7 separate regions of the Homo sapiens genome follow, and all the other regions are linked to region 1. Evidence: promoter capture Hi-C in 16 types of primary human blood cells and fetal thymus (Javierre and others, 2016). All regions are on one chromosome and are shown on one strand. The core of a region is centred on a gene start or on the middle of the fragment in contact, and the rest is flanking DNA. Distances in the headings are between cores, read along the strand shown.

What was found. The method cuts DNA at HindIII sites, captures the fragments that hold promoters and counts their contacts. A CHiCAGO score of 5 or more calls a contact.
Region 2: a fragment that was not itself captured here is called in contact with the fragment with the promoter of SNAPC3 in region 1 in 3 of 17 cell types (non-activated CD4 T cells, M1 macrophages and M2 macrophages); the score reaches 6.8 in non-activated CD4 T cells.
Region 3: a contact is called between a fragment that was not itself captured here and the fragment with the promoter of SNAPC3 in region 1, in 3 of 17 cell types (M1 macrophages, non-activated CD4 T cells and total B cells). The highest score is 6.4, in M1 macrophages.
Region 4: a contact is called between a fragment that was not itself captured here and the fragment with the promoter of SNAPC3 in region 1, in 7 of 17 cell types (activated CD4 T cells, M1 macrophages, M2 macrophages and 4 more). The highest score is 11.9, in activated CD4 T cells.
Region 5: a fragment that was not itself captured here is called in contact with the fragment with the promoter of SNAPC3 in region 1 in 13 of 17 cell types (fetal thymus, non-activated CD4 T cells, naive CD4 T cells and 10 more); the score reaches 15.7 in fetal thymus.
Region 6: a fragment that was not itself captured here is called in contact with the fragment with the promoter of SNAPC3 in region 1 in 2 of 17 cell types (megakaryocytes and fetal thymus); the score reaches 5.3 in megakaryocytes.
Region 7: a contact is called between a fragment that was not itself captured here and the fragment with the promoter of SNAPC3 in region 1, in 2 of 17 cell types (M2 macrophages and M1 macrophages). The highest score is 6.8, in M2 macrophages.

Annotation. Positions count from the first base shown.
Region 1 is chr9:15,420,408-15,424,275 of GRCh38, reverse strand. SNAPC3 (small nuclear RNA activating complex polypeptide 3) reads right to left here and starts at 1,400. Exons shown (of 9, transcript NM_001039697.2): 1 at 1,083-1,400; 2 at 290-367. The coding sequence starts at 1,396. RefSeq lists an enhancer at 924-1,043 and a silencer at 1,384-1,673. The HindIII fragment of the contact is 2,004 bases long and covers 952-2,955 here.
Region 2 is chr9:15,188,359-15,192,461 of GRCh38, reverse strand. TTC39B (tetratricopeptide repeat domain 39B) reads left to right here. Exons shown (of 20, transcript NM_152574.3): 10 at 1,207-1,272; 11 at 1,800-1,908; 12 at 2,670-2,737; 13 at 2,829-2,888. Among named protein-coding and RNA genes, the nearest start is that of TTC39B, 120 kb to the left of the region's middle. The HindIII fragment of the contact is 5,799 bases long and covers 1-4,103 here.
Region 3 is chr9:15,254,877-15,258,714 of GRCh38, reverse strand. The region is part of intron 2 of TTC39B (tetratricopeptide repeat domain 39B); the gene reads left to right. Among named protein-coding and RNA genes, the nearest start is that of TTC39B, 50 kb to the left of the region's middle. The HindIII fragment of the contact is 2,190 bases long and covers 378-2,567 here.
Region 4 is chr9:15,227,447-15,231,584 of GRCh38, reverse strand. All of the region lies in intron 2 of TTC39B (tetratricopeptide repeat domain 39B), which reads left to right. Among named protein-coding and RNA genes, the nearest start is that of TTC39B, 78 kb to the left of the region's middle. The HindIII fragment of the contact is 3,048 bases long and covers 1-3,015 here.
Region 5 is chr9:15,603,264-15,607,094 of GRCh38, reverse strand. All of the region lies in intron 6 of CCDC171 (coiled-coil domain containing 171), which reads right to left. Among named protein-coding and RNA genes, the nearest start is that of CCDC171, 52 kb to the right of the region's middle. The HindIII fragment of the contact is 2,025 bases long and covers 707-2,731 here.
Region 6 is chr9:15,636,199-15,640,115 of GRCh38, reverse strand. The region is part of intron 7 of CCDC171 (coiled-coil domain containing 171); the gene reads right to left. Among named protein-coding and RNA genes, the nearest start is that of CCDC171, 85 kb to the right of the region's middle. The HindIII fragment of the contact is 203 bases long and covers 1,207-1,409 here.
Region 7 is chr9:15,170,804-15,174,521 of GRCh38, reverse strand. It overlaps TTC39B (tetratricopeptide repeat domain 39B), which reads left to right. Exons shown (of 20, transcript NM_152574.3): 20 at 2,413-3,718. The coding sequence ends at 2,503. Among named protein-coding and RNA genes, the nearest start is that of TTC39B, 130 kb to the left of the region's middle. The HindIII fragment of the contact is 1,046 bases long and covers 1,173-2,218 here.

The DNA.
Region 1 (3,868 bases), core at 151-2,650:
TAATACCACAATAATTATGTAGGAGAATGATACTTTTAGAAGCTATATGCTTATGTATTTACGGGTAAATTATCATGTCTAACTTACTGAATGGGGGATAGCAAAATGAAAAAACACACAGCAGGCATCCCATACACACGGCTAAAGTAAATATGGTCAAATATTAAGAACAGCTGAATTTAAGGGGTGGGTATACAGACAACAATCAATACTGCACTTTCAACTTTTCAAAACATAATGTTGAAAAAATGTTTAAATAAATAGGTCATAAAAACCAAGTCCTCCATACCCCAAAGTCACCAGGTCAGTATTCTCCGGAATGACTTCTGGATCCTCACCGTCCTCAAGGCATTTCAGTTTATCAAGGCTAAAACAAAAAGGAAAAGCAATACTTTAAGGTCGACTCTGCATCTGGTTCACAGCGAGTTAGGGTTGTTTTCCTAAATACATTACTGAATTACGAAGTCAGATAAAATCCAGCAGGCGGCTCAGAGAGGCCAGAACTTAAGACAACGATTTCTGTGATTATATTTTATAATGAAAAGGCCGATGAAGGCAGCCAGTACTGTTAAATGGAGAAAGAGATTAAAGTTATTTTTATATTTTCATCCCCAAATAAGGCACTTTTAAGAAATATTTCAGTAACAGAATACCCGGAAGGTCCCCAAAAGAAACCAGTTAGTCGGGGTTTTAACACTCCTCTGATGAAGTCTCCCGCAGCTTCACCATTACTCAGGTTCCTCCATTGTCAAAGTGTCTGTCAATGGCAGGTACACGTCGCTGTTGCCCTGATTGCTTTTCTTTATTAACAAGCACTCTTAGAATAAGCAAATGGAAAAACTAGTCTTTGATGCAGCTGTCTTGTCCCTTTGCTCCAACTCGTAGAAACTGTGCATTCGGGTCCCAGGACTTCTCCTGGTGTCCCAGGAAGGCTCCAGCGGGTTGAAAGCTTTAAAGGGTAATACTCCTAGCCCAGGTCTAAACCACAGGCCCTTCTCAGGGATGAGTCCCAGAGGAGCGCACGAGCAAGGCTGCACCCTGTTTGACCCCAAGCTGCAAGAGCCCCTTTGCTCCGCACTCACCCGCACACCGCCCTCAGCTCAGCCGCCGCCTCCAGGCTGCAGTCCAGATCCCTGGCCACCGCGGCATCCTCCCGGTCGGAGTCAGCTGCCTGGCTCCCAGGCAGAGCGGATGCCGGCGGCTCCCTCAGCGACAAGTCCCCGGCCCCGCGCAGACGGCCCCGCCACAGCTCCCCAAAGGCGCCCACATGGAAAGCGCGCGTATTTAGCTCGGGAAGCTCATACTCTGGAAAGTTGCAGCCGCCACTGCCGGAGACTGGGTCCTGCCTGCCACCCACCCCGCTACACGTAGGGCCACCTCGGCTTCCTTCAGCCATGTTCGCCCCACTCCTTCCCCTGCAAAAGCCTGCAGATCAAGGCCTCGCAGAGCGTGATGGAAGTTGTAGTTGCTTGGGGCGCCCGGCCGGCGAGCGGCGAGGCGGCGCGGGCAGGGCATCAGAAACTACATTTCCCGGCAGGCCATGGGCAGGCCCGCCCCAGGGCGCGGCACCGCGAGGCTCTACGTGCAGGGCGCAGCATTGTTCTCCGACCCGGGCGGTGCGGGAACCGTTGCGGCTGTCGGTTAACCGCAGCGGGTGGGGCTGGGTTTCTGGTCCCCGAGTTACGTAGCAACTGTCTCTGCCCGGTAGGGCGGCCTCGCCAGGCGCTTAGGCCCCGTTCCTTGCGGCTTTCGGACTAAGGGGTGCAGGGCTTTTTCTTGACTGGGGTTCAAGGACTGCTCTGCTGCCTGATTGCTTTAGAGCCTAAGAAACAAGGAGGGCGAGGGCCGAGACCAGGGACACGACCAGCCCTCCAGATCTGGTTCTTTCACAAGCTCCGCAGAGGCCCCATGTTGGTGTGCGTGTGCAGTAGTGTTTCAGAGCGTCTGTGTATCACACGCTACATGATTAACCCTAATGTATGTTTTTAATGTTTTTAAAAATTACAACAACCTTTCCGGATAGGGCGTATCACCCCGTGTTGCTGTTGAGGAAGGATTTACCTGCGGGGAAAATAGAAGCAGGATCGGAACTCAGTCTGGCTTCAGATGGAGCTCTCTCCATTTCTCAGAGGCCCTGAAGGATACAGCAGGACATACTATTTATTTATTAGACTGTAATCACATGCCATATAATTCACCCATTTGAAGTGTTCAGTGATTTTTGGTATATTCACAGGCTTGGGCAACCATCACCACTATTTGAGAGCATTTTTACCACTCGAAAGAAGAAACTTGTACTTTTTAGCTATCACCCCTGATCCTCCCAACTCCTCCAGCCCTAGCCAACCAAGAACCTACTTTGTCTCTCTAGATTTAACTAATCTGGACATTTAATATAAACGGAATTATATGGTCTTTTGGTGGCTGGCTTAATGTTTACAAGGTTTGTTACAGGTAGTTAGGCATGAGCAGGGCAGGAGAGGGCTCTTCCCTCACCCACTAGGAATGTGGGGTGATGCTTAGGCATTTATCACATTGCCTCTAAAAGTGATAAATTGGCAGCCGGTGCCAGGGAGAGGCCATTTCCTGATGGCCCACACCTGTTGCACTAAAGTGCTCGTTGAATGCAGGTGACAGGGAGAAGCAACTTCCTGGGCATATGCATTAAGAGACAAAATCGGGGAGTATGACCTTTCAGGGGGACTCTATCGGAAAAGGGAAGAAAGCCTCAGATGGGCACGCATACAACTTCATACATATTGCGCTGTGCTCACTTCCCAAGGGTAAGGAGGGCACTGCGCATGGAGGCAGCCCACCCTAAGGGAAGAATCATGGGAAAGGAGCCAGCCTGTAAAGTCCTAGGATCGAGGTCAATATCACAGTTGACCTCAGTGACAGCTTGGGACTCTTCCGAGCGTGCTTTCCTTTCTTTCCTAAAGGCCTTTTAAATAAGCTTCCACTCCTGCTCTGAAACTTGCCTCAGTCTCTTTTTGTGCCTTATTGCCCCTCGGTCAAATTCTTTCTTCTGAGGAGGCAAGAACTGAAGTTGCTGCAGACCCATACAGATTTGCCCTGGTAACTTGGATACCTGCCACCTGTAACACGTTCATCCATTTTGTAGTATGTGTCAGTACTTCATTCCTTTTTTGGCTGAATAATATTGCATTGTATGTATATGCCACATTTTATTTATCAAAAAGTTTTTACCTTTTGGCGTTGCTATGAACATTCATGTACACATTTTTGTGCAAATACGTTTTCATTTCTCTTGGGCATGTGCCCAGTAGTATACAGTCAGCCCTCCCTATCTGTGGGTTCTGCATCCTCCAATTCAACCAACCACATATCAAAAATTACAGTATTCCCAGGTTGCAGAACCTGAGGATAAGAGGAATTTTCCTATGGGCGGATTCCACAGGGCTGACTGCAAGAAGAGCATCTGTCAATTTTGGAGTCCACAGGGGTCTTCGAAACAGTCCACCCTGCAGATACCAAGGGATTTCTGTATTTATGGAACTCTATTTTCAACTATTTGAGGAACTGCCAGATTTTTTTAAAGTGGCTGTCCCATTTTACTCCCCTCCCCAGCAGGATTCTCCACATCCTTGCCAACACTTATCTGAACTTTTTATTATAACCGTGTCAGTGAGTGTGAAATGGTGTTTCATGACTTTTTATTTGCATCTCCCTAATTATATTGATGGAACACGTTTTCATGTGCTTATTGACCATTTGCATATTTCTTTGGGGAAATGTATATTCAAGTTCTTTACCAATTTTTAAATAAAGTTATTGTGTTTCCATAGGAGCTCTGGTTTTTTTTTTCTTTCTTTTTTTTTTTTTTTTTTTTTGTTTTGAGACAGAGTTT
Region 2 (4,103 bases), core at 1,501-4,000, 230 kb after region 1:
ATCAGTTTTCTGGCATTGTGACCCAGTGTGTTATAAAGTTCCACACATGCTCAGAGTAGCTTTGGATTGTAAAATGTAAGGGAAGCGTGTGGTACTCTGAATAGACTAGTAAGGTTTTTGGTAACAAGGAACAGTGGAATCCATTTCCATTTCCACAGCAGAAATATTGTTGCAATGACAATGACGGCTCTGGAATTGAAAATGTGTGAGGGACCAGTATAACTTGAGGAATGATTTTTGATGATTCCTGAGGAGATGGAAGTCTGAGTAGTAATCTGTCAAATTCCAATATGTGATTAAGAGATTTTTAAATTTTATTGATGGTTCACTGGAATTAGTGAGAAAATAAAGTGATCAAGAGAAGTATACACATGAGTGAATGTGCCACTATGGCCACTTTGCTTATAGCCTGTGGGGTGATAAATGGGAAAGAGGCTGACTGGTACCCACAGAATGGACCATCTTATCCAATTGGTTGTTAAAATCCTCTTCTGCTAAGGTCATCCTTTGGTGTGTATCCACATGGGACACAAATATCTTTACATTTTCTGCCCATTCAGAAAGATCTGACCACGTACTTCTTCCCCAGACCTCTTTGTCACCAATTTTCCAATCATGATCCTTCTAAGCCCCTGCCCTTCCAACCAAACCATTGTCTACATCCCCTGAATCAGCATATAATTGCACATCTGGCCATTTCTCCTTTCAAGCATAGTGCATAACCAGGTGCACTGCCCAGGGTTCTGCCCACTGGAAGGATATTCCCTCACCACTGTCCTTCAGGAATATCCCAGAGAGAAGTGGTAGTGCTGCAGCTGTCCACTTCTGGGTGGTGTCTACACATCACACAGACTATGACTGATTTTTGCTTCTGGGAAAGGAAACTAAGAAACCTTGCCTGGATGTGGGCTTTGAGGGGTTACCTTCTTGTCACTTCATCACACCACATCAAAGGTCCCAGTATTCTATAGAGAACCCTGGAAAGACCAGGCTTAAAAAAAACTTTTTAAAGGTTCCTTGTCTTAGCTAAATGAAATTAATTCATAAATGATTGTTACAGTATGTGGTAACAGAAATATCTGGTGGTTAAAACTTGTTCCCAATTTCTCATGTTATTGAAGCATTAAAACTGTAAGTTGTTAGTTTAGATTTGTTTGCAGTTAGAAACACTAACACATAAGTACACTGTATATTTTTTTCTTACAGATGCTGTCCCTTTTACCAGCAAGGATTATCAGACTACTAGAATTTATTGGATTTTCTGGGAATAGGGTACAAATTTAATTTTATGTTAATTTTGACAGGGAAGATAAGACAGTATTTATTGAACATGAGGGCAATGCAACATGTCTGCATAACTACCTTGATAATTATTGGCAATTTGTTTGTAGGACAGAAAATAAGCCTTTGATTCTTGATCATGTTTTTCAGGACTTAGACATAGTTTTTCTGATGAAAGTTAAAAATGTTCACCCTTGTTATCCAAATTCTTGGATGAAAAATTATGTGTTGCTAATATTGCTTCTTGCTAGATCTTATTACTCTCACGTGGTTTCCTATGCTTTCTTAATAGTTGACCAAAGATGGGAGGGGTGGGGGAAGAGAGGGTTGAAAAACTACCTGTTGAGTATGATGTTCACTCTTGCGGTGATAGGGACACTAAAAGCCCAGACTTCACCACAGCGTAATATATGAAATCTGTACTTGTAACCCCCCTAATATATAAAAATGTTTAAAAAGTTTCTGAATATGATTTTCCAGTCTTGTTCTCTTTCTAAAAATGCATTTAATTCCCATAGGAGTTGGGCCTCCTGCAGTTACGTGAAGGTGCTTCAGGAAGGAGCATGAGGTCTGCACTGTGCTGCTTAACCATCTTAGCTTTTCATACTTACATCTCCCTAATACTTGGTAAGATCTGGATTAGATTGTTTCATTGAACATTGATTGTCTTGGCCAGACATGGTGTGTTACACCTGTAATCCCAACTACTTGGGAGGCTGAGGTGGGAGGATCAGTTGAACCCAGGAGTTTGAGGCTGCGGTGAGCTATGATCACGTCACTGCACTGGATCCAGCCTGGGCCACAGAGCGAGATCCTGTCTCTAAATTAAAAAAAACAAAACAAGACAAAACATAAAGTTGATTATTTTTAATCTGAGTAAGTAAAAATTTAGAAAGATCAGCAAGAGCTAGTAGTTCATATCTGTTTACTTTTTTTTTTGAATAAAGGTAGAAAATAGTGTCCTTTGTCATAGTGACATTTAGCAGAAGGAGTAGGGTAGTTTCTTTCATTAAATAATTTTCATCTGTTCTCAGCTAAAATTTCTATATTAAGGTGATCTATTTTATCATATATGAGATTTTTTTCTTTGCAGAAAATGAAATTTTGGGCTAAATAAGTTAATATTGCTGTTAAAACCAGAAATTCCAATTAGGAATCTGAGACAGCCACCTGCATTCTTAAGAATTAGTGTGTCCTAGAGCTTTCTTAAACTAAAGTTATAGGTGAGACTGGTCTTTATTTTATTCCCCAGATATAAAAATGATGAAATAATAGTTTTCATCTTTTCCATGAGTAGGTCTTTACTGTATGTTAATGAAATTTGGAGAGCTGGTTATAAATATCCCCATGTCTTATGAAGACTGAGTCTTTTCCTGTTAAATTTCTAGGTACAGGAGAAGTGAATGTTGCGGAAGCAGAGCGTCTCCTGGCACCCTTCCTCCAGCAGTTTCCAAATGTACGCTCAGTATTTCAAAGTGTATGTTTCAACCATAATTAATCAGCCAGTGTTGACTGTTGAACAGTGTGTTTTCTTCCTTGCTCTGCAGGGCTCACTCGTGTTGTTTTATCATGCCCGAATAGAGTTGCTGAAAGGGAATCTTGAAGAGGTAATTTATTAGGTGGGAATTATTTGGGGGAGTTGTCTGTATGGCGACTCCTACATGAGTCGCTGTGACCTACTTATTCAACAAAAGTAAACTTGGCTATATGGACTAGACAAAAATAAAGAAAAAAATATATAAGTAAAAAGCCAAAACTTTTAACTTGTATATACATTCTATTATATAAAATCTATGCAGTGGATTACTGAATATAGTCTACATTTATACATAGAGTACATTAAGCACTTTAGGGTAATATATACCAAATAACAAGCTCAGGGATTTTCAAGAAACTGTGACTGTTACCAATTTCTGCATTACACACTGACTTTGGAATCTAGCCCCTGTGTGACATGCAGGTCTACTACGTGTGGGCTCCGTATCAAAGGACCCCTCAAAAAACGAATTCCCTCAAAAACGAAGCGTCGAGGTCAGAAGTAGAAAAGTAAGGAGCCATTTATGTATATACATTCACAAACCATTTTTTCCACACAAATGGGATCAAAATGTATTTTTCTGTGATTTTTTTTTCACTGTTTACAATATGTCTTGGATCTCTTTCCAGATCAGTATGCCTAAATGTCTCCTATTCTTTTTGATGGCTGGGTTTCATTTCATGGGATGGATATACTATACCTATTAAAGTGGTCCATAGACATTTGGCCACTACAAACTGTTGTGAACATCATTGTATGTATATTTCTGTGCACAGGTACATTTATAGAAGACAGATTATGATTAGTAGAATTCCTGGGCCAAAAGGTGGTTGCATTTTTATAAATCCAGCCAAATTGTCCTCCTCACTTAAGATTGTTCCAGTGTAAACTCCAGTAAACATATAAAAATATTTTTTTCCAATGCTCTTTGCTGGCTCAGGACATTACGTGATGGCTAAAAATGAGAATCTAATTTTTAAGTTTATATTGCCTAGTTTACAAATTTATCCACATGTATATCTGTCATCTATATATTTTTTTCTGATTTGCCTATTTACATCTTTGCCTGTTTCCTGTTGAGTTTTCTTTTTCTTACAGAATTTTATTAAATTGATGAATGATAAAAGAGTTAACCTTTTGCCAGTTACGTAGATAGTGACATCTTCTTCCTGTCTGTTGCCTGTAACTCTGCCTACAGTGTTTTGTCCTATGGAAGTTCTAACTTTATTGTCAGTCTTTTCTTAAATGATTTCTGCATTTGATATCTTCCTTGGAATGGAACCTC
Region 3 (3,838 bases), core at 223-2,722, 170 kb after region 1:
GCAGGATCTTTGTGACTGTGGTTGCCTTTCTGCAGGCTCAGTGTCCTCTCTGACTTTCTCAGCCCTGGTAGCAATGCTCAGCTTGTGTCTGAAAGCCAGGACTTTGCTCTTACACTGAGTTCCTTGCCTCCTCCATAAGTAACCTTCTTGACATGGCTGCTGCTCCCTGCTGCTGTCTTGGGCTATTTTGGTAGTTGTAATGGGAAAGAGGTCCAATCATTGCTTCTTTTATCACTCACTAGGATGTTTCACAAACACATTAATTTTTATGTCCCAAACTGAACTCTTGGTATCCACCTCCTTTGTTTATCTGAAAACTTTGCCTTTTCTGTAAATGTCTCCACCCACCATCCACCCATTTGTTCAAGTCAGAAGCTTGGGAGACATCTTTGATTCCTTTCTTTTCTTTTAATTTCCACATTACCAAGTCTGATGATTTCTACCTCCAATATATATTTCCCATCCGTTCACTTTCCTCTCTCTCCGCTCTATTACATTAGCTTAAGTGACTATAAGATTTTGCTTGGACTACTTTAAGAGCTGGCTAATGGTTAATGTGTGTTCCCGCTTCTTTTGTTCTCTCCCTCTACTTTTCCAACTGCACCCCACTTACTCTCCATACAGCAGCCCAAGTTATCTTATTTTATTTTTTTTGAGATGGAGTTTTGCTCTTATTGCCCAGGCTGGAGTGCAGTGGTACGAACTCGGCTCACCGCAACCTCTGCCTCCTGGGTTCAAGCGATTCTCCTGCCTCAGCCTTCCTGAGTAGCTGGGATTACAGGCGCCCGCCACCGTGCCCGGCTAATTTTGTATTTTTAGTAGAGACGGGGTTTCTCCATGTTAGTCAGGCTGGTCTCGAACTCCCGATCTCAGATGATCCACCCACCTCGGACTCCCAAAGTGCTGGGATTACAGGCGTGAGCCACCGTGCCTGGCCTAAAATTATTTTTAAAAATAAGATAATTTGCGTCAGGCACGGTGGCTCATGCCTGTAATCCCAGCACTTTGGGAGGCCAAAACGGGTGGATTGCTTGAGCCCAGGAGTTTGAGACCAGCCTGACCAACATGGCAAAACCCCCTCTCTATAAAAAATACAAAAAATTAGCCAGGTGTGGTGACACATCTGTAGTTCCAGCTACTTGGGAGGCTGAGATGAGAGGATCATTTGAGCCGCAGAAGTCGAGGCTGTGTTGAGCTGTGATGGTGCCACTGCACTCCAGCCTGGGTGATAGAGTAAGACCCTGTCTCAAAAAAAAAATTTTTAATATGACCAATTTTGAACATCTACAGAAAGTAAAGAGGATAGTAAACCAAACCTTATATACTAATCACTTAGCTTCTATAGTTGTCAACTCAAGGCCAATCTTATTTCATCCATATCCTATCCCCAGATTATTTGGAATCAAATCCTAGACATGATAATTTATTTCTACCTCTAAATATATTAAAATATATTTCTTCAAAACAAAGACAGTCTCTTTCATAATTACCATTCAGATACCAAGATCAGGAAATTAACATTGATATAGAGCTATAGTTTAATCTGTATGCTTTATATGACATCATTTTATCTGTATTTAGCTTGCAAAGGTCGCTTTTTAAAAAATCACAAGACTGTTGTCACACCTAAAACATAATAATATCCGTCCAGTAACTGGTCAGTGCTCAAATTTCTCCGACTGTCTCATTTATTTTTTTAACAGTATGTTTGTGTGAATCAGGACAAGAGTGATCCTTTTAGAAATTAAATGGGATGATGTCACTGCTTGCTTAAAATCCATCCATGAGTTTTCCTGTCTAAAGCTGAAGACCCAATCTACCTTTGTTCATAAGGTTTGAGGTGGTTGGGCTCCCACATACTGCTTCTGCCTCATCGAGGGCAACTCTTGCCCTCATGCATGACCCTCCAGCCACAAGCCTTATACAGTTTTTTGTGAGAGTAAACCCTGTGCTGCTCCGGATTGGAGCGTGTTTGCCCTCACTCTTTTGAGGGCTTTTTGCTGGCCATCCTCCACTCTCAGCTGGCGTGTCCTCCCACTTTCTCAGTGACTCCACCAAAACAGTTAGTCTTCCCCCATTTCTCTGTCTTGGCATCTTGTTTGTTTCTATCACTCCATTTCTCATTTTGCAGTTAATTGTTACTTGTTTTTTGATCATCTGTTTTTTTGAGCTCCAAGTTCTATAACGATGGGTCTGATCTACTTTGCTTGTCATGGTGTACTTGGCACCTATGCACCATGCTTGTCACATAGTAGGTGCTCAGTATATATGTGTTGAAAAAATGAATGTGTGAAATTAATATACTGTCTTAGTCCATTTGGGCTGCCGTAACAAAATCCATTAGACTGGGTAATTTATAAACAATGGAAATTTATTTCCTCACTGCTTTGTAGGCCGCAAGGTCCAAGAGTAAAGTGGCAGCAGATTGAGTGTCTGGTGAGGGCCCATTCCTCATAGATGGTGCCTTCTTTGTGTCCTCACGTGGTAGAAGGAAGCAGAAAATAGTGGAAAGAGGGGAAAGAAAAAAAAAAGAAGAAGGAAAAAGGGCAAAGAGACTCCCTCAAGCTTTTTTGTTAGGGTACTAATCCCATTTACAAGGGTGGAACCCTCATGACCTAATCACCTTCCAAAGGCCCCACGCCATCACTTTGGGGGTTAGGTTTCAACATATGAATTTTGGAGGGACACAAACATTAAACCATAGCATGTACTATTAAGAAAATATAGGTGGATCCTCAGAGTAGACTGCTAGGATTTGCAGTAAATTAAAGAAAAAAATGTAGCCACCATTGAGTTCCTAATGAGTATAGGGCACAGTGATAATTGCTGTGATTATTCAAATGGTTAGTTAAGGGATCTTTTGGAATACACAGTTAAAAAAAAAGACTGTGGCTGATTGTGTTCATAAACTCAAATGCATATATAATTAAATAAAGTCCAAATGTTTGGGCATAGTAAACACTATCCATAATTGTTGGTGTCTCCATTGCCATTTTTCTCTGAAGGGCTGACTCAGTTTTCACTTGACGTTTGCATAAATGAGTGTCAGAATCTTAAAGGATACAGTGAGCTCATTGCCTTTTGTTAACTTTTTACCCTGTTTCACCTGACATCCTTTTTTTTTTTCTGACGCCTTCATCCATTCCCTTTTCATCTACCTCACGATAAAAATAGGAACCTAAGATGACTAATAAAACACCCAAAAGCATATACTTGGGAGCTTTGTCTTTTGAAATGCGCCAAACTTCTTCATTGCTTGTGTTCCGAAAATCATCAGCCTCTCTGGTCTCCTTTCTTTTTCCTTCTTCCCTCTTTCCCCCTTTTGTCTCTGCTTGTGGAACATTATTCTACGACCAGAGAATAGAACTCCTCAAAGGCATAGTGATATTTGGTTTAGGTACATTTTTGAATAGTGTATAGTTCAGTACCATGCATGATGCACATCTAATAAATAGTCTGAAGACTTAATAGCCATCAACAAATTGGAAGAACCCTGAAATTGCCTAAAACTGAAGAGATATTTGGGGATTTACATATAACTTTTATTATTGTATAAAGTAATTTCTATGTTATTTATTTTATTTTTATTGTCTAGAATGAAAATATTCATACCAGCAGCGGTCTTTTAAAATTACCTGATGAGCAGAATGTTATAGTTAGAATGAAAAATGTTAAAACTCCATATAGCTCTGATGAATTAACCTTTTCAAAGGTGTGGGCATAGTATTTGGTCTCCCCTGTAGGCAATACAGCTATAAGCTTTTGATTTTTATTTATTTTAGTAGTTAGGAAAGTTTTCTGCAAGCGTAACTTGACTTTTATGCAGCAAAAAAAAAAA
Region 4 (4,138 bases), core at 242-2,741, 190 kb after region 1:
AATTAGAGCAGTATTCAAATGAATAATAAAAAGATAAGTAACTCAATTAAAAATGGGAAAATAATCTGAATAGACATTACTCCAAAGAAGACATACAATTGGCCATTAAGTACTTAAAAAAGATTCTCAACATTATTAGTCATTAAGCAAATGCACACCAAAAACTACAGTGAGATACCACCATATCTCATGGACAAAAACAAGTATTGGCCAAGCTGTTAAGAAATTGGGAATCTAGTACATTATTGGTGGGAATATAAAATCACATAGCTGGCCGGGCATGGTGGCTCATGCTGGTAATCCAAGCACTCTGGGAGGCTGGGGTAGGAGGATTGCTTGAGCCTAGGAGTTCAAGACCAGCCTGGGCAAGATGGCAAGGCACCATTTCTACAAAAAATAAAAATTAAAAAAATCGGAAAAATCACACAGCCACTTTGGAAAACAGTCTAGTAGTTCTTCAAAATGTCAAACATAAAGTTACCACATAATGTAGCAATTCCACATACCATAATTTAGCATTCCATAGCAATGCTAGATATATAATTAAGAGAAATGAAAATACATGTCCACACAATAACTTGTTTGTTTTTTTTTTTTTCTGAGATGGAGTCTCACTCTGTCACCCAGGCTGGAGTGCAGTGGCACAATCTTGGCTCACTGCAACCTCCGCCTCCCGGGTTCAAGCAATTCTCCTGCCTCAGCCTCCCGAGTAGCTGGAATTACGGGTGTGCACCACCATGCCTGGCTAATTTTTGTATTTTTAGTAGAGATGGAGTTTTGCCATGTTGGCCAGGCTGGTCTTGAACTCCTGACCTCAAGTGATCTGCCCTCCTCGGCCTCCCAAAGTCCTGCTGGGATTACAGGAGTGAGCCACCATGCCTTGGCCAAGAACTTGTACATGAATGTTCATAACAGCATTATTCGTAATGGCCACAAAATGCAAATTATTCATATATTATCAACAAATGACTAACAAAATGTGGTATAGCTATACAATGGAATAATATTAGGTAATAAAAAGGAATAAAGTACTGTTACATGATACCACATGAATGAATCTTGAAAACATGCTAACTGAAAAAGCCAAGCATAAAGACCATACTTTTTATGATTCCATTGATATGAAATGTCCAGAATAGGCAAATCTATAGACACAAAAAGTAGATTAGTGGTTGTTTAGGACTAGAGGAGGTGGAGTGGAGAATGAGGAGTGACTGCTAATATATGGATACATTTTGGTGACAAAATATTATAAAATTAGATTGTGGTGATAGTCTGTGAATATACTAAAAACCATTGATTGTAAACATTAATTGGGTGAATTTTATGGTCTGTGAATTAGGTCTGAATAAAGCTGTTTAAAAACTTAAAAGTTAGAGCCGTTAAAATAGGGCAAAATAAGGGCATATATTCCAATGTACTAATAGCTGTAATTGAAGTTTGGTGTGTTATTTTTCGTAGCCTCCAGTATAAAGATTTAGCATGGCTCTTTTGCAAGGGTACATGCATATCAGTGCAGTGTTCAGATATTAAAAGCCTTTATTGAAGGAAATAAGAGAAGACCTGAATAAATGTGTAAAGATGTGAAGATGCAATGTTATAAAGACAACAATTCTCTGTAGATTTCCTAATAATGTAATGAATTCCCAGTCAAAACTCCAGCAGGACTTGCTTGTAATATTATAATGACTAACTCTGAAATTCATAAACAAGAATGTAGGTGTAATAATAACAACCCCACAAAAAGAGTGTTTAATAAAGTAGAGAACTTGCCCCAGTTGGCTTACAGGTCTCGGAAAGCCATGATAATAAAAACGGTGTGACTAGTGCAGAGAGAGGCAAATATGTGATGGAACAAAAGAATGCCCAGAAACAGACCTGAGCACGTATGGAAAATTGCTGTGTGTAAGAGATTGCAGAATAATCCAGTATGTCAAAGTATCATAATTATGGAATCAACGCATGTCAGTGAGGAAATCAGCAAGATGGTAAACCTGGTAACAGCATTTGGAGAACTGAGGAAAGAAAAAGTGTTGAAATAAGGTTTGTTATGCACAACACTGGTTAACCTCCGGCAAGGTAATAAAACCATAATCTTACCACACAGAAATTATTTGCATATCTACCAGATTAAAAAATCTACAAGTTAACATAATTTTACAGAGTATAGGTTTTAATAGTAAATAGCAAGCCAAACAAGATATATACTCCCTAGGGAATTAAATGTTCCTTGGGTGGGCCTGTCAGACAGTGCTCCAAGGTGACCTTGAGAGGACATGCAGTCTTCCTTTTGCCTTGTTTCCAAGCTCTTATAACAAGTAGATGAGTTATTTCTTGCTTATCCATGCAGGAAAGAATTAAATGTAGCTCAGACTGTACACAAAAATGGATTCTAGATTATATTTGTGTGTTTGCAATAGTATTTTCTCTACTTTATGTATTTGAAGCATTTCTTATTAATGAAATGAGAAAATGCATTCTTAAAACACTAGACAGTACTTTCAATAAATGGGTTATGTCTATATCTAAAAAAATCCTGTTTAATAAAAAAATTAGTTTGTGGCATGATATGCTTATTGTGATATTAACATAAATCTAGAAATACTGTAGAATTTCCATGAATTCGTGTACATGTGTATACAAACATAAAGAACTTGAAGAATCTGAATCTAATCTTTTATACCTCAGAAAAGATGAATAAAATGTAACATTATTTTGTTAATAATTATTATATTCTGCTAAAGTCAAGTCTGTTGTGCCAGGTAAAGATACAATAATTTTAGCTTTTATTAACAGATTAATTTAGGCACAGTAATATTTTAACTAGTTTGTTTGAGCATAAGTGATTCCTGAATTGAATATCATTAGAACACAAGCAGTTCAGTGTTCTACTTAAGGAGTGGGAGGGGGAAACTTATGAAGTATTTAAAGAAGCAAGACAAATAAAATACTTGACTGGAACAAGTGGGAAGTTCTTAGTTAGAGGTGAGTTGGCGGTTTCTGATTGGCTAAGCTTAAGTTTTGTTTTTACTGTTTACGGTGAGTTGAGTTTCCATTTGCTCGTATAGGAACCATCTTTGCTGAAGGCCTCCCAATTCATTATTACTGTTTTTATTTTTTGAGATGGAGTGTCACTCTTGTCACCCAGGCTGGAATGCAGTGGTGCAATCTTGGCTCACTGCAACCTCCGCCTCCCGGGTTCAAGCAATTCTCCTGTCTCAGCCTCCTGAGTAGCTCGGATTACAGGCACCCACCACCACGCCTGGCTAATTTTTGTATTTTCAGTAGAGACGGGGTTTCACCATGCTGGCCAGGCTGGTCTCAAACTCCTGACCTCAAGTGATCTGCCTGCCTCAGCCTCCCAAAGTGCTGGGATTACAGGCATGAGCCAGCGTGCCCAGTCCCAATTATTTTAGCACTTTGAAACATATAATATTTACCTGGCACACCAAATTTATGTTTATATCTAGTGTGTTATATATGGCATGTCAAATCATTGGGGGAAAAGATGTGTTTTTTTAAAAACAATCTTGGGAAACATGGCAAAAGATTAGGGAAAAAATTACACAGCACTATCTTGTACCATTTATTTAAATTATAAACGATTAAATATAACATATTAAAAAGTAAAACACAGGTAAAACTATGTTATATAATCTTTGTAGAGGGAAGGTTTTTCTAAGTATGCCCTCAAAATCAGGAATGTTAAAGAAAAGGGTGATAGTTACGACTAAGTAAAAATTTCAATATTGGGGAGACTTTTATTAAAGCTAAAGGCAAATGTGAAAAGGGGATATTTTAACAGTACATTTCAGAGACTGTGTGTTTCTAGCCCTCGAAAATGAGTCTGTAAATGAACAGATGGGCAAGAATGGTCCAAATGGGTAGATAGCCTTTTCAGTCGGTCACTTCCTCTTTCCCTGCTTGTAAACGGAGCTGATGGTCACTGCCCAGAGTCTTATTTATGGAAGTGGTACCTGTATTCTCAGAATAAGAAGTTTTTGTGATGGAAATAACTTGTCTTCTAATGACATTTTCCCTTACCTGTGGAGTTTTCTTCCCTCCCACCACCCACACCTAACCACCCTTGTAAGAACAACTTCAGTTTTCCCCTATGTGATGTGAAAAATTTAGGGAA
Region 5 (3,831 bases), core at 470-2,969, 180 kb before region 1:
ATATCATCCAATCCTGAGATGCAATGTAACACTCAAGAAAATCCAAAAAAACTACAAAAATACCTCATGCAATTTACAGAAAAACTTGCCTTCATCCCAAATAAATGTAACTTTAAAATTTTTGTTACAGAACATATTTTCCAATCACACCAAAAGCTACCTGCATCTTTATTATGTGTGTCTGTGTGTGTGAAATAAAATCATATTAAGGACACTGGAAATTGAGGGAAGTTCTTCTTTTTTCCACTAGAGGGGGCTGTTGAACTTAAAATATTTTAAAATGAGGCTTGTTTTTGAACTGACATTTAATATCACAGGAAACTACATTTGGCTGTTAGAAAATAAACTTGCTTTCTTTCCACATCTTCCAGAAACGTAGCCCAAAAAGTATAATTCTTTATATATACTCATATAAACAACATTTCTCAGAATCCAAAATACAGTTCCGTTCCAATTCTGAAGAATTACACTAGTTAGAAAAGTATCAGAGTTAAATGTACTCCTCTTTTCTAGCTTATAAAATATATCAATATAGCTAACTACAACCTTAATCTATTACATTATTATCTCCTGAAAGACCCAGAACAAGTTCCTCCTCTCTAAGTCCCCAAGGCTAGCAAAGTTCTACAATTACAAAGTGTTTGTTGCTATAGAGCATAAACTGGTGCTTTGTATAACATTTATCATAATTGTGAATCCATAAGCTTGAAAATGAAACAATTATATTTCTAGGCATTTACACGAAGAATCATTTGTATGACTGCTCAAAGATATGGACAAGAATGTTAGTGAATCATTAATTAGAGCTAAAAATTTTGAAAGAAATAAAATGTGCATCAATAAGAGATTACTGAAATACAATATTCCCTCTTATCTGCGGTTTCATCTTCCCTTTCAGTTACCCTGAGTCAACCTAGGTCCAAAAATAAGTGAATACAGTACAATAAGATATTTAGAGTGGGAGAAAGACCACATTCACATTACTTTTATTATAGTATCTTGTTATGATGGTTCTATTATTAGTTACATCGTTAATCTCTTACTGCGCCTAATTTATAAATTAAACGTTATCATAGGTATGTGTGTGTATAGAAAAAAACACAGCATATCTGCAGTTTCAGGCATCCACTGGTGTCATGTAACATATGCCCCACAGGTAAGGGAAAGGCTACAGTATGTTAGGAAAATCCACATGACAGAATGCCATGCAAATACTAAAAGAATAAGGTATGAACATCAAAAGATGGAGGCAAAATATTATTGAGGTGTATCATTTTATTTATGTAAAAACGTAATGCTTCTATATCCTGACATGAGGAGCGAAATCAGAGGTGAAAGGGGCAAGACCCTTACTTTCTTGCTTTTAAATTTCCCTAAATTAGGGACTTTTTTTTTTCTTTTTTTTTTTTTGACAGAGTCTCGCTCTGTCGCCCAGGCTGGAGTGCAGTGGTGCGACCTTGGCTCACTGCAACCTCCACCTCCTGGGTTCAAGCGATTCTCCTGCCTCAGCCTCCTGAGTAGCTGGGATTACAGGTGCGTGCCACTACTCCCGGCTAATTTTTTTTTTTTTTTTTTTTTTAGTAGAGACAGGGTTTCACAGTGTTGGCCAGGATGGTCTCAATCTCCTGACCTCATGATCTGCCCGCCTCAGCCTCCCAAAGTGCTGGGATTACAAGCATGAGCCACTCTGCCCGGCCAAATTAGGGGCATTTTTATAACAAAGTTATCAGTGTCAGAGTCCTTTTCTATGCCATTTGTTAATAGGATACCAGTACATAGTTTTCCAGAAGAAAAGAAATGCTCCTTGCTGCCCTTGATTATTTAAGGTAAACTTCCTTAAGGTGTTTACCTGTCATACATGTCAACATATGTTAATGTGTTACATAAATAAAATTATAAGCCAGGTGTGGTGGCTCACTCCTGTAATCTCAATACTTTGGGAGACTGAGGCAGAAGGATCACTTGAGCCCAGGAATTCAAGACCAGCCTAGGCAACAAAGGAAGACCCCCATCTCTACAAAAATTTTAAAAATTAACCAGGCTTCGTGGCACATGCTTATGGTCCCAGATACAAAGGAGGCTGAGGTAGGCAAAGGCTGCAGTGAGCTGTGATAGTCCCGCTGCACTCCAACATGGGCAACAGAGTGAGACCTTGTCTCAAAAATATAAAATAATAAAACAAAATAAAATTATATTCCTAATATTTTGCATCCATCTGTTGATGTTCATATCTTATTTCTGTGTGTATTTGCATACTATTCTGTTACGTGGATATTCCTAAAAACACTTTCTTTTCACGTAACTTCCTCCGAGTTGTCACTACATCACAATCATACTTACTGGGTCAGCTTTTGATATGTTGCACCCCAATCCCTGGATTGTCTTAAGGCCTATCAGACCATGCCTACTAAGGGTGGTCTGATAACTTTCTTCACTGCCTCCCTACTCTTCCTCCTCTTTCTATAGTTCATGGAATTATTTTCAAGCTACACTTCCCATACCGTCACAAACTCCCCCATGCTTCAATCACTAGACACATACACCAAATTTAGTCGATGAATAAGGAAAGGATAACTGTATTCCCTGGTTGAGGTATAGAATTTTGGAAATGAAATAAAAATGAAAACATATATATTCATCTTCTAAATGTTTTCAATCCCACTGATAAAGTATACGTGAAATTAACTGGAAAAATAACAAAGGAGGGGCATGATAGTTTAGAAACAAAGCTTTATCACTGCCTGTCCCACAATAGAAAAGCTTGTGGCAGGGCAAAGATTTCATGACAAACTCACCATAAGCAATTGCAACAGAAGCAAAAATTGACAAATGGGATCTAATTAAAAACTTAAGAGCTTCTGCACAGCAAAATAAACTATCATCAGAGCAAACAGGCAACCTACAGAATGGGAGAAAATTTCTGCAATCTATCCATCTGACAAAGGTCTAACATCCAGAATCTACAAGGAAATTAAACAAATCTACAAGAAAAAAAAAAACCATCAAAAAGTGGGCAAAGGACATAAACAGACACTTCTCAAAAAAAAAGACATACATGCAGCCAACAAACATGAAAAAAAGCTCAACATCACTGATCATCAGAGAAATGCAAGTCAAAATCACAATGAGATACCATCTCAGGCCAGTCAGAATGGCAATTATTAAAAAGCCAAGAAACAACAGATGCTGGCAAGGTTGCAGTGAAAGAGGAATGCTTTTACAGTGTTGGTGGGAATGTAAATTACTTCAACCATTGTGGAAGACAGTGTGGCAATTCCTCAAAGATCTAGAACCAGAAATACCATTTGACCCAGCAATCCCATTAATAGGTATATACCCAAAGGAATATAAATCATTCTACTATAAAGACACATGCACATGTATGCTCATTGCAGCACTATTCACAATAGCAAAGAGATGGAATCAACCCAAATGCCCATCGATGATAGGCTGGATAAAGAAAATGTGGTATATATACACCATAGAATACTATGCAGCCATAAATGAATGAAATCATGTCTTTTGCAGGGACATGGATAGAGCTGGAAGCCATTATCCTCAGCAAACTAATGCAGGGACAGAAAACGAAATACCGCATGTTCTCACTTGTAAGTGGGAACTGAACAATGAGAACACATGGACACAGGGAGGGGAACAACACACACTGGGGCCTGTCAAGGGTGGAGTGAAGGGAGGGAGAGCATTAGAAAAAACAGCTATGCAAGCTGAGCTTAATACCTAGGTGATGGGTTGACAGGAGCAGCAAACCACCATGGCACATGTGTACCTATGTAACTAACCTGCACATCCTGCATATGTACCCAAAAACTT
Region 6 (3,917 bases), core at 59-2,558, 220 kb before region 1:
TTATAACTTTTCATGATGATCTCATTGATACTTATTTTACTATATAGGTCAACTAAAAAGCAGAATGGAACATTTATAGAGTACCTACTATATGCCAGATGCCATACTAGGTCCTTGGCCCAAAGGCCAAAACGAGTCCTGACACATCTATAAGCATTTCCATTAGGAGTAAGCAAAAGACCTGTGTTGTAGACAAAAATTCATTTGTCGCTAAAGGATATTCCTTCTACTTACTTCTCTGAACTACAATTCATCTGTAACTGTTTTATTAATGGCCAAAACATATTTGTTTTCCAGAATCCCCTAGATTATTTTACATAAACAGGCTCATATAAAGCATAGCAGAACATAGAAAGATTCAGAGTTCTCTGTGCCAGTCATCTTGATCATGATTAACTATGCAGTTCTGAAGGTAGAAAATTCAAAGTTAAAGTCACTGAGGATGGTAACAGAGCCTTAACGGTTTCAGAAGGGATATATGAGGACAATAGGCTGACAATAGAAATAAACTGGAGAACACTGTAATTTTTTTATTCAGCAAGAAATGAAGTATACCACTCAGATTATAAAAGAGTTTAATGAAGAAAAAGTTTTATTACTTCTAGGTATAATCAAAAAACCCACAGATAATAAAAATAAGAAATATCAGGAACAGAATTTGTGGTCGCAAATTCTGATTAACATGATAATAAACTGATTTACCTTCTTTAAAAATTATCTCTACCTTTTCTGGCAAAAAAAACTTGAGTATTTACCAAATTTTTAACTGAAGTTCCAATCTTAAAATTTATTATAAACATAAAATGCTGCATTTAAATGTGTAATACCTATGACTGTATAACACAGGTGATTTCATCATTTACCTATTTTATAGTTAGTAATCTATGCAAATGGACCTTTGAAAATGATTCCTACAAACACATGATGGCTTTAAAAAGATGAATCATACAAGGTGGTCTTTATCAACAATTATGAAAGGTAAAATACAACTTTTCCATTTTCAGTTGAAGATAGTACGCATTTAGAGAAAGATGCTACCTTTTACCCTTTTTTATGTTACTATAATATAGAATATGACTGACAGAAGCAATTCAGAATTTATTTGCAAAGACTGTTCTCTCTCTACCATAATCTTCAGAAGATTCTTCAGTTCTCTCAGAATTAGGTTTGCATCTTCTCTTTTCTCTTTTCTTATTGAGTTAAGCTTATTTCCCATGATAATAAACTCCCCTAGTTGTAAAGAGGTTTATAAAAGCCATGGATATTTCTTTTTCCAGTTTGCTTTTCCCTTGATTCTATGGTATCCAGTACTGCATTTATAAAATTGGATTGGGAGTTTGTTTGTTTTTTTTTAATCTAAGAAAGCATTGATCCATGTTAAGATGATTAAGACACAGTGATATAAAGCTTATAAGATTTTTAAATTCTTTTATATTTATGTTTCATATATATAAAAACTTCTTTGGCTCAGGCACATAAAAAAATCACCTTTCAAGAAATGCAACTGTTAAAAAGCTTCACTAGAATTTAAAACATTCATTAGGCTAAATGTCTATTTTATTAGTTGCTTTAGTTTGATATTGCTGATATTAAATAATGTACTTTATTAAATTAAAATTTTAACAACTTCTTCTTTATTATTATCCCATCTTACCTTAATTCTCTTAAAAATACCACTAACAATTACTTAAGTACCTAGTATTACTGGTAGTGATTGTCTCCGCAATTGAGTGTAAAACTAACATAAAATGCTCTCCAGAAATTTAACTTCTTGTTCATTATGTCACTATGTGGTCAAACAGCCAACATAAAATATACTAACTAATATACAACACATGATATATAATATAAAGCAAAGCTTTTAAAAAGAATCTAAATATGAGAAATCATAGGTAACTTAGAAGACTAAAGCTCTCCACTTGTAAAATTCTTACAAATAGAAGAAAAATAAAGACTATCTAGACTACCTTCAAAGCTTCAAGTTCTCCAAAAGCAGAGACCTGGTATTATCAAAAGTATTTACACAGCAGTAAAGAAAAAAACATAAAGTAAAAATATTGTGGAAGTCAGTGTGGTGATTCCTCAGGGATCTAGAACTAGAAATACCATTTGACCCAGCCATCCCATTACTGGGTATATACCCAAAGGACTATAAATCATGCTGTTATAAAGACACATGCACACGTATGTTTATTGCGGCACTATTCACAATAGCAAAGACTTGGAACCAACCCAAATGTCCAACAAGGATAGACTGGATTAAGAAAATGTGGCACATATACACCATGGAATACTATGCAGCCATAAAAAATGATGAGTTCATGTCCTTTGTAGGGACATGGATGAAATTGGAAATCATCATTCTCAGTAAACTATCGCAAGGACAGAAAACCAAACACCGCATGTTCTCACTCATAGATGGGAACTGAACAATGAGATCACATGGACACAGGAAGGGGAACATCACACTCTGGGGACTGTTGTGGGGTGGGGGGAGGGGGGAGGGATAGCATGAGGAGATACACCTAATGCTAAATGACGAGTTAATGGGTGCAGCACACCAGCATGGCACATGTATACATATGTAACTAACCGGCATATTGTGCACATGTACCCTAAAACTTAAAGTATAATAATAATAATAATAAAATAAACAAAAAAATTTTAAAAAGTAAAAATAAAACCAGTCTATAATAATATTATACCTATAACATCAACCAATAAAAACAGATATTGAGGAAATTAAGTATTTTACAGAAAAAAGTCAATACCGGGTTGTGCACAACCACACCTTAAAGTTTAGGTTTAGATATTTTCTTTTTTGTGTGCATTTTATTACTTTTTCTTTTGTTTTGTTTTTGAGATAGAGTCTTGCTCTGTTGCCCAGGCTGGAGTGCAGTGGCACAATCTCGGCTCAGTGCAGCCTCCACCTCCCAGGTTCAAGTGATTTTGCTGTCTCAGCCTCCAGAGCAGCTAGGATTACAGGCGAGCGCCACCATGCCTGGCTAATTTTTGTATTTTTAATAGAGATGGGGTTTCACCATGTTGGCCAGGCTGGTCTCAAACTCCTGACCTCAAGTGATAGGCCCACCTCAGCCTCCCAAAGTGCTGGGATTACAGGCATGAGCCACCACGCCCAGCCGATATTTTCTTAACTGAGTCAAAACTGCCTTACCAAGAACCCTAAAAACAAAAAAAAATTCGTTATTACATAGTACAGCCTCACAACTATAACACAATTAATAAAATGTTTTTAGTGATGATAGAGTTTTCTAGCATCCTTAAGTGACTTCTAAGTGATCTTTTAAATTCTAATATTCAGAACATTAACTCTATCCTAAACCTTTTTTTTTTTTTTTTTTTTTTGAGGCAGGGTCTCACTTTGTTGCCCAGGCTAGAGTACAGCAGCACGATCACAGCTCACTGCAGGCCCAAACTCCCCAGGCTCAAGTGATCCTCCCACCTCAGCCTCCCAAGCAGCTGGGACTACAGGCACATTTCACCATGTTTGGCTAAGTTTTGTATTTTTTGTAGGGATGATATTTCACCATGTTGCCAAGGCTGGTCTTGAACTCCTGGTCTCAAGTGATCTGCCCACCTCTGTCTCCCAAAGTGCTGGGATTACAGGCATGAGCCACAGCTCCTGGCCCTTAATCCTTTTTTAGTAAGCCATCTACAAACCATAGTATTAAAAATGATGATATAAAATATAATGAATTCCTGAATTTATTGGCCTAAAAAGATGTTCAGCACAAGACAATATGTTAAAATACTATTTCAAATATAATTTCATATTTTTATTCCTTCTGTAATCTTGTAAAAAATAACCCATGTGTGGTTAGAGTATGAGGAAGTTTATCCTTGCCAAGTTCATATTTGGCATTTCTGTTGGTAAGTCCATCTACCTACTCCATACC
Region 7 (3,718 bases), core at 446-2,945, 250 kb after region 1:
CAGATCTTACCCAGACTCTGTTTTTTCTGTTTATTGCGGCAGTTTCAAAGTATTTTTATCAATTCTGGTAGACAATAGCTTTTAGACCTGTGGTCATGGATCACTTAGGTAAGGCAAAAACCCTGTGGCCTGTTTGCCTTGAACACTTTCTGCAGTAGAGAAAGAATGCCAGACTAGCTCTAGGTCATAAACAGTGATTTGTCCATTTATTCAAATTCAGCAGTTATTCACTGAGCACCTATTATGTGTCAGACACTACTAGTAAAGGCTTTAGAGAGACAACTATAAACTAAGCAGGCAATACTTCTGCTCTGTTAGCCAGAGGGAGATACTAAATAGACAAGAAAAATATCAGTGGTATATGTTTGCTGAGATTTATAATATGATACATGGTGCCTGGGTGTTACTTCAGGATAGATTGATTCTGAAATATTTCCTTGGGGAAATGATATTGTAGCTGAGATTTGCATAATTAAAGCCAATCTTGAGATCAGTCATCAGAAATCAACCAACTAGGTAGGGAGCATTCCTGACAGAAGTCACAGTTAGTGAACATCTGCATTGAGGAGGTTGAGCCACTGGGTCAATGATGATGCTTTCTGCTGTGCTGGGGAATACTTAGAAGAATGTATTTGGGGAGAGAACGAAACATACTTCTGTTCAGACCATGATTCTTTAAGATGGCTATTAGGTACTCATATTAGGTAGATGGCAAGTTGGCGTTCATACTTAGCATGAAGTTCAGTGATAAGGTCAGGGCTGAATGTAGAGATTGCAGTCAACAGCACAGAGACAGTAATATTTAAAGCAATGGCGTGTGATGAAGTCATTTTGTGAATGTTATATAGCTAGAGAAAGAGGTCTAGCACAATGTCTGGGATATGCCATCTTCTTAGACATTAAATGATAAGATTAAGAAGATTAAGAGAGTTAGGAAGACATCTAGGAAAGCCAACCAAATAGTGTTTCAAAAAGAAGAGCATGGTCAGTTATGAGGGCAGCAACTAAGAGGTCAAACAAGTTAAGACCAGAAAAGTGGCTGCTGAATTTGGCAGCATGAGTATCATTGGTGACCTTGACAAATGAGGTGACAAACAAAATGGAGTCCGCTACTTTAGGCAACTCTTTTAGGATGTTTGCTGTGAATAGAACATCGTAATGGGGCAAAAGCTTTACGGGCATGGTAGAGCCAAGAAGGGCTTCCTTAAAATATTTATATATAGGTGATATGAGAGCAAGTTGCTTTTAAAGTTAATTTGTTGGGAGTATGACCAATATTTCATGTGTTAGATATAGATATCTTCAAATCCAGCTATTGGAAAATTATGGATTATAAATGCTGCTGTTCCAAATATTCATTATTTGAATATACAATGTATAATAAGGCAACTTTATAAGATAAAAATAAAAGACTAGTAACTCACTGCTAAAAAGCAATGAAAAGCCTCCACTAACTCAAGACAATACTGACAATTCAAACATAAAGATACTTCCCAGTAATTCCAAGACTATTATCTGCACTTTCCCTTTATGCATTAGGAGCTTTGCAAAGTTGCCCACATTGGTGGCATTTAGGAAAATACTCAATTCCATCTGTCGGTAAACTCCAGTAACATATTGATTTTAGTTTATGAATAATACATTTTACTAACCCACATCAAGATTACCAGTGAGTAGCCCTTATACCTGTTCAAAATGAAGGGCTATAGAAATAAGTGCCACTGTAAAGAAAGCAGTTATAGCTCACCCATGGGCCAAGGCAGTATGTAAAAGTATTCCATTTTTCTGATTCTTAACAATTCTGGTAAAGGGAGGTCAACATAAATGCTCTTAGGCAGGTTTTAAATAATCTTTGGATTTCTATGGCCCCCTTTAAAGACATTGGCCTAATTCTTATGTAATTATTGGCCAAACCATTGATATTTACATGTGAGAATTGGAATAAGTAATTTTGACGTCATTAAGTAATTCTGCTGCCTTTGTTGCAGTTGTTTCATTTGAGTTTCTTGAGTGATCGATCATGTGATCATGCTAACCATGTTTATATGCACCTACCTTAAAATTTTCCAATTTAAAAAAGGAAGTCTAATTATTTAGGACTAGTTCACAAAATTTGTACAGCCCTTCTCACAACTTCTTGCTATGCTTGTGAATGATTTGGTAATTAAGCAGAACCTTGCTACTCAAAGTATGACCTTTAGATGACCACCAGGAAGCTTCTAGAAATGCAGATTATTGCAGTTCCCCCCAAAACCCCCCAACAGAACCAGAATCTGCATTTTACTAAGATCTACGGTTATGTATATTAGAGTTTGAAAGTAAGTAAGTAGATCAGAGAGAGGAATGGGAGAGTGGTGGTACCTGGTATATAAGGAAATTTTGACTGTACAATTTTATTGTTATTGTCTTCAGGAACAACTACAAAGATTACTCCCTGGAGTCCAGACTACACTTCAGAATTCAGGCAGCTCTTCACCTCTGGAGAAAACCTTCCTCAGATTGATCAGAACTTGAAGGATGGAATTTTTCCTCAATTAGCATCGGCATCTGCTATAGATTCAACCTTATATTAAAGTGGAAAAATGATCTTGTGAATAAGAGACAAAAAAACAGTTTTTTTGGTCAATATTTTCTATCATCTGAGAGATTTACTGTTGGTCTACATAATTTTTTTTCCTATGGAATGGCATTCTATATTATCTAGAAAATTCTTATATTTTGCCTCCCCCAAAAGAATTTCATATTATTTGAATTAGGGGGCGAAGAAGTCTTTTGAAAGACTTGCAGATGCAATAGTCTAATTAGATTATTTATTTTTTTAATGTGAAAATTAATATTGTTTAGCAAATAGCTTACAAGTTGAGCCAATTTTGGATTTGTTGGGTAGTTAAACTTCAGAGATATTTTGTTGCCTGTATTTAAATTTCAGAAGATAAATAAATATCATTGCATTTAAAATAGCTTAACAGTGACCTTCAGAAGACTTCTGAAAAAGACAGTCTGAGAACATGAACACGGATCGATATAATGTACTTCATGGGTTGAAGAGACCTTTCTCTATAAAGGATGATGCAGTATTCAGTTAGTGGTTTTTTACTCTTCATTTGATTAAAGGTGGTGACGTTTTGGAGAGACTGATTTTGAATGTACTTAAGTCTATTATAATAACAAAATTCAAAACCCCTGTGTATCTAAAGGGAAGGAAGTGTCATATTTTAGGAATTTTTCTTAACCTTAGCAATGAGAGCCTAAAATACATACATGGATTATTTTTCTTCTAGGAAGTAAATTTCCTGCTGCTTTAAATGATATGTAAAATATCAATAATTTTTACACTTAAGATGTTGGTAAGACCTAGTTTTCTAATCTCTCTAGCACTGTGATGTCTCCTTGTAGATAATCTGGACCTTGCTTAGTCCTTTAGTTGGGAAACAGAATCAGGGCATAGAGCAGAAGAGAGCTTGACACTCCATATGGTCCTGGTTCTGCTACCCATTAGCGATTAGTGAGGAGACCTTTAGGGAGTCCACTGTGCCCTGTGTGTCACCACATTTTCTTCTGTGAAATCAAGATTAAAGAACAGATGACTTTCAAGGTCTTTTTCAGTTTTATAACTGTGAGTCTATGTATTAGGTATTTATTTTCAACAAATGACTTTAAAATGTCGAATGCAAACCATTCCCACTTGGAGTGTTTTATTTTTCAATCATCATCATTG